3 separate regions of the Homo sapiens genome follow, and all the other regions are linked to region 3. Evidence: promoter capture Hi-C in 16 types of primary human blood cells and fetal thymus (Javierre and others, 2016). All regions are on one chromosome and are shown on one strand. The core of a region is centred on a gene start or on the middle of the fragment in contact, and the rest is flanking DNA. Distances in the headings are between cores, read along the strand shown.

Region 1 (3,993 bases), core at 594-3,093, 1.3 Mb after region 3:
CCCACAACACACCTGTGTTCATATGTTCACATACATACATTTACCCATTCATTCACCCCAAGTACAGATCAACACACTAACACTCATTTAAACACACAATGTACATTAAGTGCCTGCAAGTACACACATGCACTCACAAGGAGAAACACATATGGAGCTGACTCTTGCATGAGCTCCTTCAAAAACTGGAGCTAAGGCTCTTACCCCAGATTCAGGTCAAAGTCATGACACATATGTCTGCTGACTTCTTTTAGCTAACTTTAATGTGGGAAACTCACTTCCTCTCTGTTTAGCCTTGGAATCAGTGGTGGATCCTGAATATCTGAAAGCAACATGCCGGTCTGGCTAGCTAATAGTCACGGCCACCAGCATACCCGTAAGCTTGACTGGTTCTCGCTGAAACCTCCAGATTGGCAGGGCTTAATTTTTAGGAAAGAGGAACTAGGAGCTTTAATTTTTAGGAAAGACAGTGAGGCCTAGAAAGGAAGAATAACTTGCCTGAACTTACACAGCAGGTAAGGAACTTTAACAGGACTAGAATCTGGGCTCTGAGACTCGGGGGACTCACTGTCCTGCTGCTTGAGGAGGGCCTGGAAACCAGTCACCAAGCTGGCCCCTGAGGCTGGCCTGATCCCCCCGAGGTGCCAAGGCCTCACCATAGCAGACAAGGCGGGTCGTCTCTCGGCTGGCCAGGGGTATGTTGCACAGGCGGCAATTGGGGTTGTAGTCGCTATCTTGGAGCCATTGCAGGTAGGACTGGACGATGCACTGGAGTGGGAGAGAGATGTCACAACTGGTGCTGGGGCTGCTCGGCCTATCACCCCAAGGTCCGACTGTCTCTTTTTCTCTAGCCACAGAGGAGACTCATCCTTTCGTTTGTTTAATCAATAAATATTTATTGAGCACATACTGTGCACCAGACTCTCTCTTGGGAACGGGGGATATATCAGTGAACAAAATAAATCAAGTCCTTGCCCTTGTGGGGCTTACATTCTAGCGCGGGGCCCCTCATGGATTTGGAGGAAGCCAATACCGCCTTGCCCACCCAGTGCCCTGCTCAGTCGCTCCCCTGAAGGCCCCACCTTGGCGTGATTGGCTACCAGGCAGTGCTCGCAGACGTTGACCCGATGTTCGAAGCAGAACAGGTTGGTCACCTTTCTCTTGGGGCACTTACAAAGCCCCATGATCGATCCTGGGAAAGGGGCATGAGTTGGTAGGAAGTCAGGTTCTGGTGGCCACCACTACGCTCTCACCAGCCCAGTTTCCACTCTTAACTCCCCCAGACACCTCTCATATTCGCCCCGATCTCAGATTCCTGCCCACTGTCCCTCCTTATGCGGAGAAACACCCCCTGCATAAATCCCGCCTCCGGCGACCCCTCAATCCTTCTGGATCCCGCCCCCGGCCAGGCCCCTCCATCAGAGGCTCCCCGATACTACCGGCCCCGCCCCCAAGACCTCTCCTGAGCCCCACCCCCTCCAAGTCCCGCCCCTTCTCTACAGACCCCAGTCTCTGTGTTTACTGATCGGCCGCTGCACTGGTTCCGAAGGGCGGTAGCGATGGCTCGAGGCGCGGAAGGGCAGGGACCACTCTCCCCAGGGCTCCTGCGCCTCTCCCTTCAGCCCCGGCCGCCCCGATTATCCCTCCGCTGCCACGTCTCTTCCGGGTGCGGCGCGCGCTGATGACGCCATCGCGCCCCTGGGCCACGCCTCCGCTGCCGCTAGAGGTGAAGACGGGTGGAAAAGACTCGGGGTTCCGAGGGCCGCAGACCGCTAGCCCTACGTCACTTCCGCTTCCTTTCCCGCAGGGCGGGTAATTCGAACGTTTTTTGCAGCGAGTGGCCTTCCCGGTTGGCGCGCGCCCGGGGCGGCGGCGCTGGAGGAGCTCGAGACGGAGCCTAAGTTATGTCTGGGAGGCGAACGCGGTCCGGAGGAGCCGCTCAGCGCTCCGGTGAGCGGAGGGCGCGCGGGAGACGTGAGGTCGAGCCGTTTGGGGGACGCAGTCCGGTGAAAGATGGCCTCTTCCCTCCCGCTGCCGCCGCCGGAGGAGGCGCCCTTAAAAGGGCTTGTTTGGGAATCTTCTCGCTGTCTCTAGAACCTGTTCTCTGGACTCTAAGGTCTAGAGTCCTCCTCTACCACTTAACTTTTTTCTCTTTCCAGGGCCAAGGGCCCCATCTCCTACTAAGCCTCTGCGGAGGTCCCAGCGGAAATCAGGCTCTGAACTCCCGAGCATCCTCCCTGAAATCTGGCCGAAGGTGAGCCCCAGATTTCTCACTTCCTCCCCTTGTGGCCCCTCACCTAATGTTGAGCTCACGTTCATCCCTCTTCTCCAGACACCCAGTGCGGCTGCAGTCAGAAAGCCCATCGTCTTAAAGAGGATCGTGGCCCATGCTGTAGAGGTAAAGGCTAAGGAGAGTGTTGTGGGTGGTTAGGCGGGCAAAACTGGGGACCAGCTATGTGATCAATTGGTATTGTCCCCCGCAGGTCCCAGCTGTCCAATCACCTCGCAGGAGCCCTAGGGTGAGTTCACTTTCATCTACTTAATTAAGTAGAATCTGGGTCACTCTAGAGCTGGACAGCACACATTGGCTCCTCACATCTGCCCAGGGAGCTGTTTTGCAGTACTGCAAAAACAGTTTGCCTGTGGGCACCTGCATGCATTGCCAGTCTTGATTACTCCCTGAAGACTTAATACACTTAACTTTTTATGCCTTGTGTATTTCTACCATTTTCCTGGAACTTCCTTTAAAAGCTGAGCTATGTCTTAACTCCACGTACTGCCTTTCTAATCCATTATGCCTTCAGCTTTCATGTATGGGTGTTCTGAGATAAGTCATGTGTATGACATTTTTACAGTTTTAGCAGAAGTTATTATCAAAGGATGTTTCATTAATAGACAATCTGAAGACATACTGACTGAGAAATGTGAACTCCTTTGAAGAGCTGATAGGGCTTAGAGTCAACTGGGGAGAAAGACCAATGACAAGTGATAGCAACGTTGTGTACTGGGACTGCAATAAGGAATACTAGATGCTATGATGGTAGCTAACCCAGACCATGTGGCTCAGGGAATGTTTCGTGGAAGAAGAAACATTTGAACTGAGTCTTTAAAGACAAGTAGAGGCCGGGTGCAGTGGCTCACGCTTGTGATCCTAGCATTTTGGGAGGCTGAGGCGGGCAGATCACTTGTGGTCAAGAGTTTAAGACCAGCCTGGCCAACGTGGTGAAACCCTGTGTCTACTAAAAATACAAAATTAGCCAGGCATGGTGGCACGTGCCTATAGTCCCAGCTACTCAGGAGGCTGAGGCAGGAGAATCGCTTAAACCCAGGAGGCGGAGGTTGCAGTGGGCCGAGATCACGCCCCTGCACTCCAGCCTGGGTGACAAAGCGAGACTCCATCTCAAAAAAAAAAAAAAAAAAAAAGACAAGTAGGTTTGTTCCAGGTCAAAGAAGCCATGTTTGCAGAGATTGGGAATTTAAAGAAAAATCAAGGTTCGGGGAATAGCAATTTGTTTAGTGTCTGCAGCAGACCTCAGCAGGGGAGGAAGCACCCTAAGGCAGAGCAGATCCTGATGAGGCACAAAAGCCACACTCATGGCTTGGGCATCATTCTTGGGTCTGTGGGCAGCCTTTGGAGAGTTCTGGGTAAGGTAGTGACCGAGTCAAGTTTGAGTGTTTTAAGAAAGACCCCTCTGGGGGCTGTGGGGAGAATGGTTTTGAGAAGGGCTACCCTGGGGCTCCAAGACCAGTGGAATGACGTGAAGTCCAGGAATTCTGAAGCATGAAGCCAAGGGCGTGAGCTAAAGCCAGGATGATATACAGTACTGGGTTCAGAGGGAATTGCCCCCCAGTGGCCTTCCCTGACCACCCTTACCCTATTGCTGTCACATTTCTCTATGTAATTCTCTTAGGCCTTACCAGTTCTAAAGATAGGGTCTTGTTCTGCCACCCAGGCTGGAGTGCAGTGGCGAGATTTCGGCTCACTGCAGATCT
Region 2 (4,022 bases), core at 17-2,516, 1.2 Mb after region 3:
TCTATACCCATTCCCGAATAAATATCCTTTTCTTTTAGAGTCTGTTATTTAGGTTGACATAAGATAGCACCAGTCTTTGGTTTTCCATGGTGCAGGGTACAGATGGGATGGAAAGGAGGCTCAGGTACTCTGAATGGTCTGCCTCTCAGGATTTCTGTGGGATGCAAAAGAGTATATGTACACTTCTGAAAAGTCAATCAAGCCTTTAGAAACTTAAGGCTTAACTTTCTGTCTCGGTTTTAGAAATAGATATTATTATATTGGCAGCGTGGCCTTGTTTGTACCTCCATGATTGCCTGGCTGGCCTTGCTAACCTAATCACATCTGTGACGGGATATAGTGATGTTTAATCTTATGATTGCCTTAAGAATTAAGGCAATCAGACGGGTTCGGCGGCTCATGCCTGTAATCCCAGCACTTTGGGAGGCCGAGGCGGGCGGATCACGAGGTCAGAAGATCCAGTCCATCCTGGCTAACAAGGTGAAACCCCGTCTCTACTAAAAATACAAAAAATTAGCCGGGCATGGTGGCGGGAGCCTGTAGTCCCAGCTACTCGGGAGGCTGAGGCAGGAGGATGGCGTGAATCTGGGAGGCGGAGCTTGCAGTGGGCCGAGATCGCGCCACTGCCCTCCAGCCTGGGCGACAGAGCGAGACTCCGTCTCAAAAAAAAAAAAAAAAAGAATTAAGGCAATCATAATTCCCCACGCACACTCATATGCTAGGACCCCGCCCCTTACCTGAAACGTTGTGGCTTATATAGACACTGCCAGGCACTGTGTTAAGTGCTCCCAAAGAGCACCCCAGTCTACCATTTTCCCTCTCGATTCTATATGTACACTCGGGACAAGTTCTCCTGATCGAAAACGGCAAAACTAAGGCCCCAAGTAGGAATGCCTTAGTTTTCGGGGTTAACAATGATTAACACTGAGCCTCACACCCACGCGATGCCCTCAGCTCCTCGCTCAGCGCTCTCACCAACAGCCGTAGCCCGCAGCCCCGCTGGACACCGGTTCTCCATCCCCGCAGCGTAGCCCGGAACATGGTAGCTGCCATCTTTACCTGCTACGCCAGCCTTCTGTGCGCGCAACTGTCTGGTCCCGCCCCGTCCTGCGCGAGCTGCCTGCCCAGGCAGGTTCGCCGGTGCGAGCGTAAAGGGGCGGAGCTAGGACTGCCTTGGGCGGTACAAATAGCAGGGAACCGCGCGGTCGCTCAGCAGTGACGTGACACGCAGCCCACGGTCTGTACTGACGCGCCCTCGCTTCTTCCTCTTTCTCGACTCCATCTTCGCGGTAGCTGGGACCGCCGTTCAGGTAAGAATGGGGCCTTGGCTGGATCCGAAGGGCTTGTAGCAGGTTGGCTGCGGGGTCAGAAGGCGCGGGGGGAACCGAAGAACGGGGCCTGCTCCGTGGCCCTGCTCCAGTCCCTATCCGAACTCCTTGGGAGGCCTGGCCTTCCCCACGTGAGCCGCCGCGACCACCATCCCGTCGCGATCGTTTCTGGACCGCTTTCCACTCCCAAATCTCCTTTATCCCAGAGCATTTCTTGGCTTCTCTTACAAGCCGTCTTTTCTTTACTCAGTCGCCAATATGCAGCTCTTTGTCCGCGCCCAGGAGCTACACACCTTCGAGGTGACCGGCCAGGAAACGGTCGCCCAGATCAAGGTAAGGCTGCTTGGTGCGCCCTGGGTTCCATTTTCTTGTGCTCTTCACTCTCGCGGCCCGAGGGAACGCTTACGAGCCTTATCTTTCCCTGTAGGCTCATGTAGCCTCACTGGAGGGCATTGCCCCGGAAGATCAAGTCGTGCTCCTGGCAGGCGCGCCCCTGGAGGATGAGGCCACTCTGGGCCAGTGCGGGGTGGAGGCCCTGACTACCCTGGAAGTAGCAGGCCGCATGCTTGGAGGTGAGTGAGAGAGGAATGTTCTTTGAAGTACCGGTAAGCGTCTAGTGAGTGTGGGGTGCATAGTCCTGACAGCTGAGTGTCACACCTATGGTAATAGAGTACTTCTCACTGTCTTCAGTTCAGAGTGATTCTTCCTGTTTACATCCCTCATGTTGAACACAGACGTCCATGGGAGACTGAGCCAGAGTGTAGTTGTATTTCAGTCACATCACGAGATCCTAGTCTGGTTATCAGCTTCCACACTAAAATTAGGTCAGACCAGGGCCCCCAAAGTGCTCTATAAAATTAGAAGCTGGAAGATCCTGAAATGAAACTTAAGATTTCAAGGTCAAATATCTGCAACTTTGTTCTCATTACCTATTGGGCGCAGCTTCTCTTTAAAGGCTTGAATTGAGAAAAGAGGGGTTCTGCTGGGTGGCACCTTCTTGCTCTTACCTGCTGGTGCCTTCCTTTCCCACTACAGGTAAAGTCCATGGTTCCCTGGCCCGTGCTGGAAAAGTGAGAGGTCAGACTCCTAAGGTGAGTGAGAGTATTAGTGGTCATGGTGTTAGGACTTTTTTTCCTTTCACAGCTAAACCAAGTCCCTGGGCTCTTACTCGGTTTGCCTTCTCCCTCCCTGGAGATGAGCCTGAGGGAAGGGATGCTAGGTGTGGAAGACAGGAACCAGGGCCTGATTAACCTTCCCTTCTCCAGGTGGCCAAACAGGAGAAGAAGAAGAAGAAGACAGGTCGGGCTAAGCGGCGGATGCAGTACAACCGGCGCTTTGTCAACGTTGTGCCCACCTTTGGCAAGAAGAAGGGCCCCAATGCCAACTCTTAAGTCTTTTGTAATTCTGGCTTTCTCTAATAAAAAAGCCACTTAGTTCAGTCATCGCATTGTTTCATCTTTACTTGCAAGGCCTCAGGGAGAGGTGTGCTTCTCGGGTTGGTGGTATGTCCCCTAGGAGAACAGTGAGGCAGAAAAGGCAGAAGCCTTTGGTATGGGGGGAAGAAATGGTAAACTACAAGAGAAATTTCCTGTGAAGAAACAGCTACAGATCCTGGGGGGCTTCAGATGTAAAATTGGGGTTATTCCCTATCCTAAGTAACTTGATCAGTCCCCCCAGGTCATTCTTTTTCATCTTCTAAACAGAGAAGGTAGCAGGAATCACTGTGGTGAGAGGTTTGTTATGGAGGCAGCAATAGAAGGGATGGGTGGGGGAAGAGGTTTGTATAGAAGGTGAACCTGGCCGTTCCCTGAACTTGGTACCAGCTGTGGCCTTAGAGTCCAGGGCAGGAATCTGGTCTGCCTTGGTTTTAGAAGTAAATATTATGTTGGGAGCATGGCCTCGTTTGTACCTCTGTGACTGCCTGGCCGGACTTGGTAACCTAATCACATCTGTGATTGGATATAGTGAGGTTTCAGTGTTCCCAAAAGTTGGGTTACCTCTGGGGCTGATTCAGGGTTCTCTTCTGGCAACTGAGCCTCCCAGCACTTCTGAACCCCACTTACTCATTCAGCTAAAGTTTCTGGACCTGCCAGTTCTTGAGAAATAGCATCCAACAGGGTAAAGCCCTTGGGCTGTGGACTTTGACTGCCTGAGTTTGGACCTTCTTTTTCTTCCTACTCCATTTACTGGGTGGCTGGCCTTTGAACTAACTACTAATTTAATCTCTGCCATCTCCAGGGCTGCTGTGAGGGTTAAAGGATGTAAATCAACATCTGGCTTACAGTGAGTGTGTGAATCTTGGCTATTTTTGTCTCTGTGGTGTTAAAGACATGGTTTCTGCCTTCCAGCAGTTTAGAAAGGGGGAGGATGTGGACAGATACAATAGCATCCCAGAGAGGGCCTCTTTTTTTGTTTTTCTTTTTTCTTTATTTTATTTTATTGAGACAGAGTCTCGCACTGTCGCCAGGCTGGAGTGCAGTGGCACAATCCGAGCTCACTGCAACCTCAGCCTCCCGGGTTCACGCCATTCTCCTGCCTCAGCCCCCTGAGTAGCTGGGACTACAGGCATGTGCCACCACGCCCAGCTAATTTTTGTATTTTTAGTAGACATGGGGTTTCCCCATGTTGGCCAGGATGGTCTCGATCTCTTGACCTCGTGATCGCCCACCTCGGCCTCCCAAAGTACTGGGATTA
Region 3 (4,061 bases), core at 127-2,626:
TAGTTCTTAGCTCTTGAACAGAAGCCTAAAATTCCTGGTTCTCTCAGGGCTTCGCCTTCAAGGGTTCTGGAGGAGGGAAGGGTCTGCAGGTTCCATGGGTGACAGCCTGAGATCTGTCCCTTCAACGGGCTGGGCTGGGTATGTGCCTACCGATGACAATGTGTAAATAAATGCGTGTTCACACCCACAGCTGGCTCCGTTACTCTCCTGAGCTGGGGGTGGGGGGATCGGGGCCGGCTTCTCCCCTTGCACGCCGTGGGGAGATGGCCGCGGACGAAGGGCACCGTCTGCAAAGCACTGAACCATCAGGGCCTTCCCTGCAGGCCGAAGGCCTGCGCGAATGTCGGCCAGTTACTATGGAGACCGGCCCGCGGTATCCCAGCATGCCTCGGGACCAAACTGTCCAACTGTGAGCATCCCCGACGGTCGCCTCCTGATGACGCACACGGAAGCACCGATAGGCTCTGCCTCCCGAAGAAAAGGGAGCCGCGCAGCGCCTACGGGAGTCCGGCGGCAGCAGCCGGTACCGGCAACCACGGGCAGCTCTCAGGGAATCTCCGTCGTGAGGCCAGAGGCTCCAGTCCCCGCGGTGCGTATCGTCATGCATGGCTTTTGGTTCGCCCTCTCCGGTTAGTCGAGCAGGGCCGGCACAACCTCCTCCTCCGAGGCCGAAGCAGAGATTTAACCGGCCTGACGCGTGCTGGGCTGCGGGCGAGCCAGTGATATTCCGGCCCGCTCCGGCGCATCTAGAAGGGAGCGGGAGGCCCCCTGGGCGCTGCGGAGAAGCTGGATTGACCTCTGCGAGAGTGGGGAGGGTCTGCCTTCCCTAGGGGCCTGCCCCGGAGGAGCTGCCATTCTGAAAAGATAAATTGCCTGTGTACAGCGCTTTACAGTGTGCTTTTCCATCCCTTACCACCTGTGAGCTCCTCAACACTCAGAGCAGGAATGGTTATCCGCTTTTTGCACCCGGGGTAAGGTGGGAAGGTTGTGACTTAACTCACTCATAATCAGAACCAGGGGGAGGAAAGAAAGGCTTCTGGAAGAGATAGACTTAAGCTGCATCTTACAAAGTGAATATACTAACAGTGAAGAGGCATTGCAAATGTTGGGAACTGAGGCTTGATAACGGGAAGATGAAGCTGGTTTAGAGAACCGAGCCTTTCAAGTCAGGTGCAGGTCATTAGTGAAATTGTTGAGGAATATGACTAAACACTCACCTAGGCCAGGCTTACTATACACAACTTGAACTGGTGTCAAGGAAAGCTTGCTACCATTACAGGGACCTGGGACTACCGAAAAGTAAAAACTAATGTCTGTCTCACAAAAAATTTTTTTGTTAAATTTGTATTTGCAAATCCTCCAGTCATCAAGTGAACCAGCACTGTGCTAGGTAAATAAGTTACATGTGCAGCCCCTGCCCTAGTGAGGCTCATAGACTGATTGCGGGGACAGATATGAGAACAGGCAAATAGATATAAACAAAGCTTCCTGGAGGGAGTGGTGTCTGCACTGTTCTAAAGGACTACAAAGCAGTGTCCAGAGAAGTTGGAAGAACACAATAAAATAGAAGCCTGCAGGAGGTTGAGAGATTATCTGCTGAGAGGACTGTTTTCTTCTTCTTAGGTGATCTCTTGGCAGTACTTGGCACTATCAGTGCAATTACTCCTTGGCAGTACTTGGCTTTCTTCTAAAACTCTTTCTCCACCACTTCGGGTTTTGCCTCCTCCTTTGTAGGGGTCTCCTCATCTGCCCCTTTGGTGACCCTGGGCGTCTTCTGATCGCACACATTGTGCCTTGCTGGTTGCACCTTCTCCTGTGGCATGAAGAACTTGCTGTATGCTGACGACCAAATCCCTGCAGCTCAGATTTCTCACTGAGACTTAGACCCATGTTCCCCCAGCTGCTTTCCTTCTCTTATTTCTGGGTCTTTGCTACTGACTCTACCTGGAATGTTCCCTCAATAAGTGCAGCTCACCCAGCTGGTCCATCTTTGTCTGGAAGCCTCCCTGCTGCATCGGGCTCCAGGTCCTGGTTATATACCCCTCCCTTATGCCCCTGGTCTTAACTCTCCTCCTATCATGGTTATAGTGTGCTCCTTTGCCCCTGTCTCCCAGGAACTTGTAAACTCCGTGAGGTCAAAGACATTCACACTTGGGCGCCTGCATACCATAGCGTCTGACGGTACCTAGCATATGTTAGATGTTCAATACATGTTAGATGAGTCAGTAAAAGAAGGAATGCTTACCAGTGTTGGATGTTGCCGAGCAGACAATTAAAATAAGCACTGAAAAATATTGGCATTAGCCACAAGGAAGTCATTGGTTAATGCTACGGGATCAGTTTCAGCTGAGATTGAGGACATCGAACAAGTGGGAGGTGAAAGTAGGAACAGCCAGTGTTCATGAGACCTTGAAAAGTGTAACTGTGAAGTGGCAAATGGAGCAGTTAGGTGGAATGGGTGAGGTTTTGTGTTTCTGTGTTTTGTTAATGCTAGGAAGTACCCAAGCACATCCAAAGTTTCATGGGAAGGAGGTTGCTAAGAGTTAGAAGCTGAAGACACAGAAAAGAGAGGGGAGCACTGATGACCTGCGGTCCAAGAGGAAGCAGAAGGAGATGGGATTTGACCCAGAGCACAATGAAAGACAAGGAGATTGTAACATTATCTGGAAGAGAAGCCGAGGACATTATAGGCAGAAGGAACAGCTGAGGCAGAGGGTGGATAGTGGAAGTGCAAGCACTAGCCATTATATGTTGGGATGAAGGAGCTGGACCGGTAGGTCAAGTCCAGTCTGGGAAAGACCTTGAAAGCCCCAGTTAGAAATTTAGGTCCAGTTTGGGTGTGGTGCGGGCGCCTGTAATCTCACTACTCAGGAGGCTGAGGCAGGAGAATCGCTTGAACCCAGGAGGAGGAGGTTGCAGTGAGCTGAGATCGTGCCACTGCACTCCAGCTTGTCAACAGAGCGAGACTCTGTCTCAAAAAATAATAAGAAGAAAAGAAATTTAGGTCCAGTTGCAAAGGCAGTGGAGAGTGCCCCCTGGGCCTTTCCTTTCTGTGGATCACAGCCTTGGCCAGTATTGCTAGGATTAGGATCACCAGTGACATCCAAGAGCAGGAGCAGTTCCACAGCTCCCAGCCTTCTGTGAGAGGTGCAGATGGCCATTTGCACCCTTGTCACCCAGTTTGTGCTCAAGGTGTGGCCAGGCCAGTTACTTCCCTGGCTTTCCCCATCTGGGATCGAGTTGTGTTCAGCATCCTGCTGCCTCTTTCCCCCTCTGAGCTGTGGGCAGCCATAAGTGATAGCTCCATTCCTTCTCCCAGAGTCCAGATGCCTGTCCAGCCTCCAAGCAAAGACACAGAAGAGATGGAAGCAGAGGGTGATTCTGCTGCTGAGATGAATGGGGAGGAGGAAGAGAGTGAGGAGGAGCGGAGCGGCAGCCAGACAGAGTCAGAAGAGGAGAGCTCCGGTGAGCCCCTACACACACAGACACACACACACACACACAGAGCCCCTACACACACACATGCACACACACAGCCCCTACACACAAGCATGCACGCACATGCACATACAGCGCCTACACACAAGCACATACACAGACCCTGCACACAAGCGCACACACGCACACACAGCCCCTACACACAAGCACGCACACACAGCCCCTACACACAAGCACGTATGCACACACACAGCCCCTTCACACAAGTACACGTGCACACAGCCCCTTCACACAAGCACGCACGCATATGCACACACAGCCCCTACACACAAGCACACACGCACACACACAGCCCCTTCACACAAGCATGTACGCGCACACACACACAGGCCCTACACACAGGCATGCATGCACACACACACATGCAGGACGCACATGCACACATGCGGGTACCCACCACTCCTCCCCAGAGCTAGCCCTTACTGGCCTCTTGTCCCAGAGATGGATGATGAGGACTATGAGCGACGCCGCAGCGAGTGTGTCAGTGAGATGCTGGACCTAGAGAAGCAGTTCTCGGAGCTAAAGGAGAAGTGAGCGTGGGGACACCTTGGGCTGGGTCTGCG

Evidence for each region. The method cuts DNA at HindIII sites, captures the fragments that hold promoters and counts their contacts. A CHiCAGO score of 5 or more calls a contact.
Region 1: a contact is called between the fragment with the promoter of CDCA5 here and a fragment that was not itself captured in region 3, in 9 of 17 cell types (total B cells, naive B cells, naive CD4 T cells and 6 more). The highest score is 9.3, in total B cells.
Region 2: the fragment with the promoter of FAU here is called in contact with a fragment that was not itself captured in region 3 in 2 of 17 cell types (naive CD8 T cells and non-activated CD4 T cells); the score reaches 6.0 in naive CD8 T cells.

The regions. Positions count from the first base shown.
Region 1 is chr11:65,081,890-65,085,882 of GRCh38, reverse strand. CDCA5 (cell division cycle associated 5) reads left to right here and starts at 1,843. Exons shown (of 6, transcript NM_080668.4): 1 at 1,843-1,950; 2 at 2,160-2,254; 3 at 2,333-2,398; 4 at 2,484-2,519. The coding sequence starts at 1,905. It overlaps ZFPL1 (zinc finger protein like 1), which reads right to left and starts at 1,661. Exons shown (of 8, transcript NM_006782.4): 1 at 1,505-1,661; 2 at 1,083-1,192; 3 at 657-768. The coding sequence starts at 1,184. RefSeq lists enhancers at 358-942, 1,532-1,801, 1,882-2,111. The HindIII fragment of the contact is 9,431 bases long and covers 384-3,993 here.
Region 2 is chr11:65,119,378-65,123,399 of GRCh38, reverse strand. It overlaps FAU (FAU ubiquitin like and ribosomal protein S30 fusion), which reads left to right and starts at 1,266. Exons shown (of 5, transcript NM_001997.5): 1 at 1,266-1,310; 2 at 1,579-1,661; 3 at 1,756-1,900; 4 at 2,364-2,419; 5 at 2,594-2,770. The coding sequence starts at 1,587. The coding sequence ends at 2,719. It overlaps MRPL49 (mitochondrial ribosomal protein L49), which reads right to left and starts at 1,079. Exons shown (of 4, transcript NM_004927.4): 1 at 976-1,079. The coding sequence starts at 1,053. RefSeq lists enhancers at 789-1,058, 1,219-1,308. The HindIII fragment of the contact is 5,955 bases long and covers 1-4,022 here.
Region 3 is chr11:66,341,500-66,345,560 of GRCh38, reverse strand. BRMS1 (BRMS1 transcriptional repressor and anoikis regulator) reads left to right here and starts at 457. Exons shown (of 10, transcript NM_015399.4): 1 at 457-589; 2 at 3,320-3,465; 3 at 3,938-4,028. The coding sequence starts at 3,327. It overlaps B4GAT1 (beta-1,4-glucuronyltransferase 1), which reads left to right. Exons shown (of 2, transcript NM_006876.3): 2 at 1-187. RefSeq lists enhancers at 282-711, 167-717. The HindIII fragment of the contact is 221 bases long and covers 1,266-1,486 here.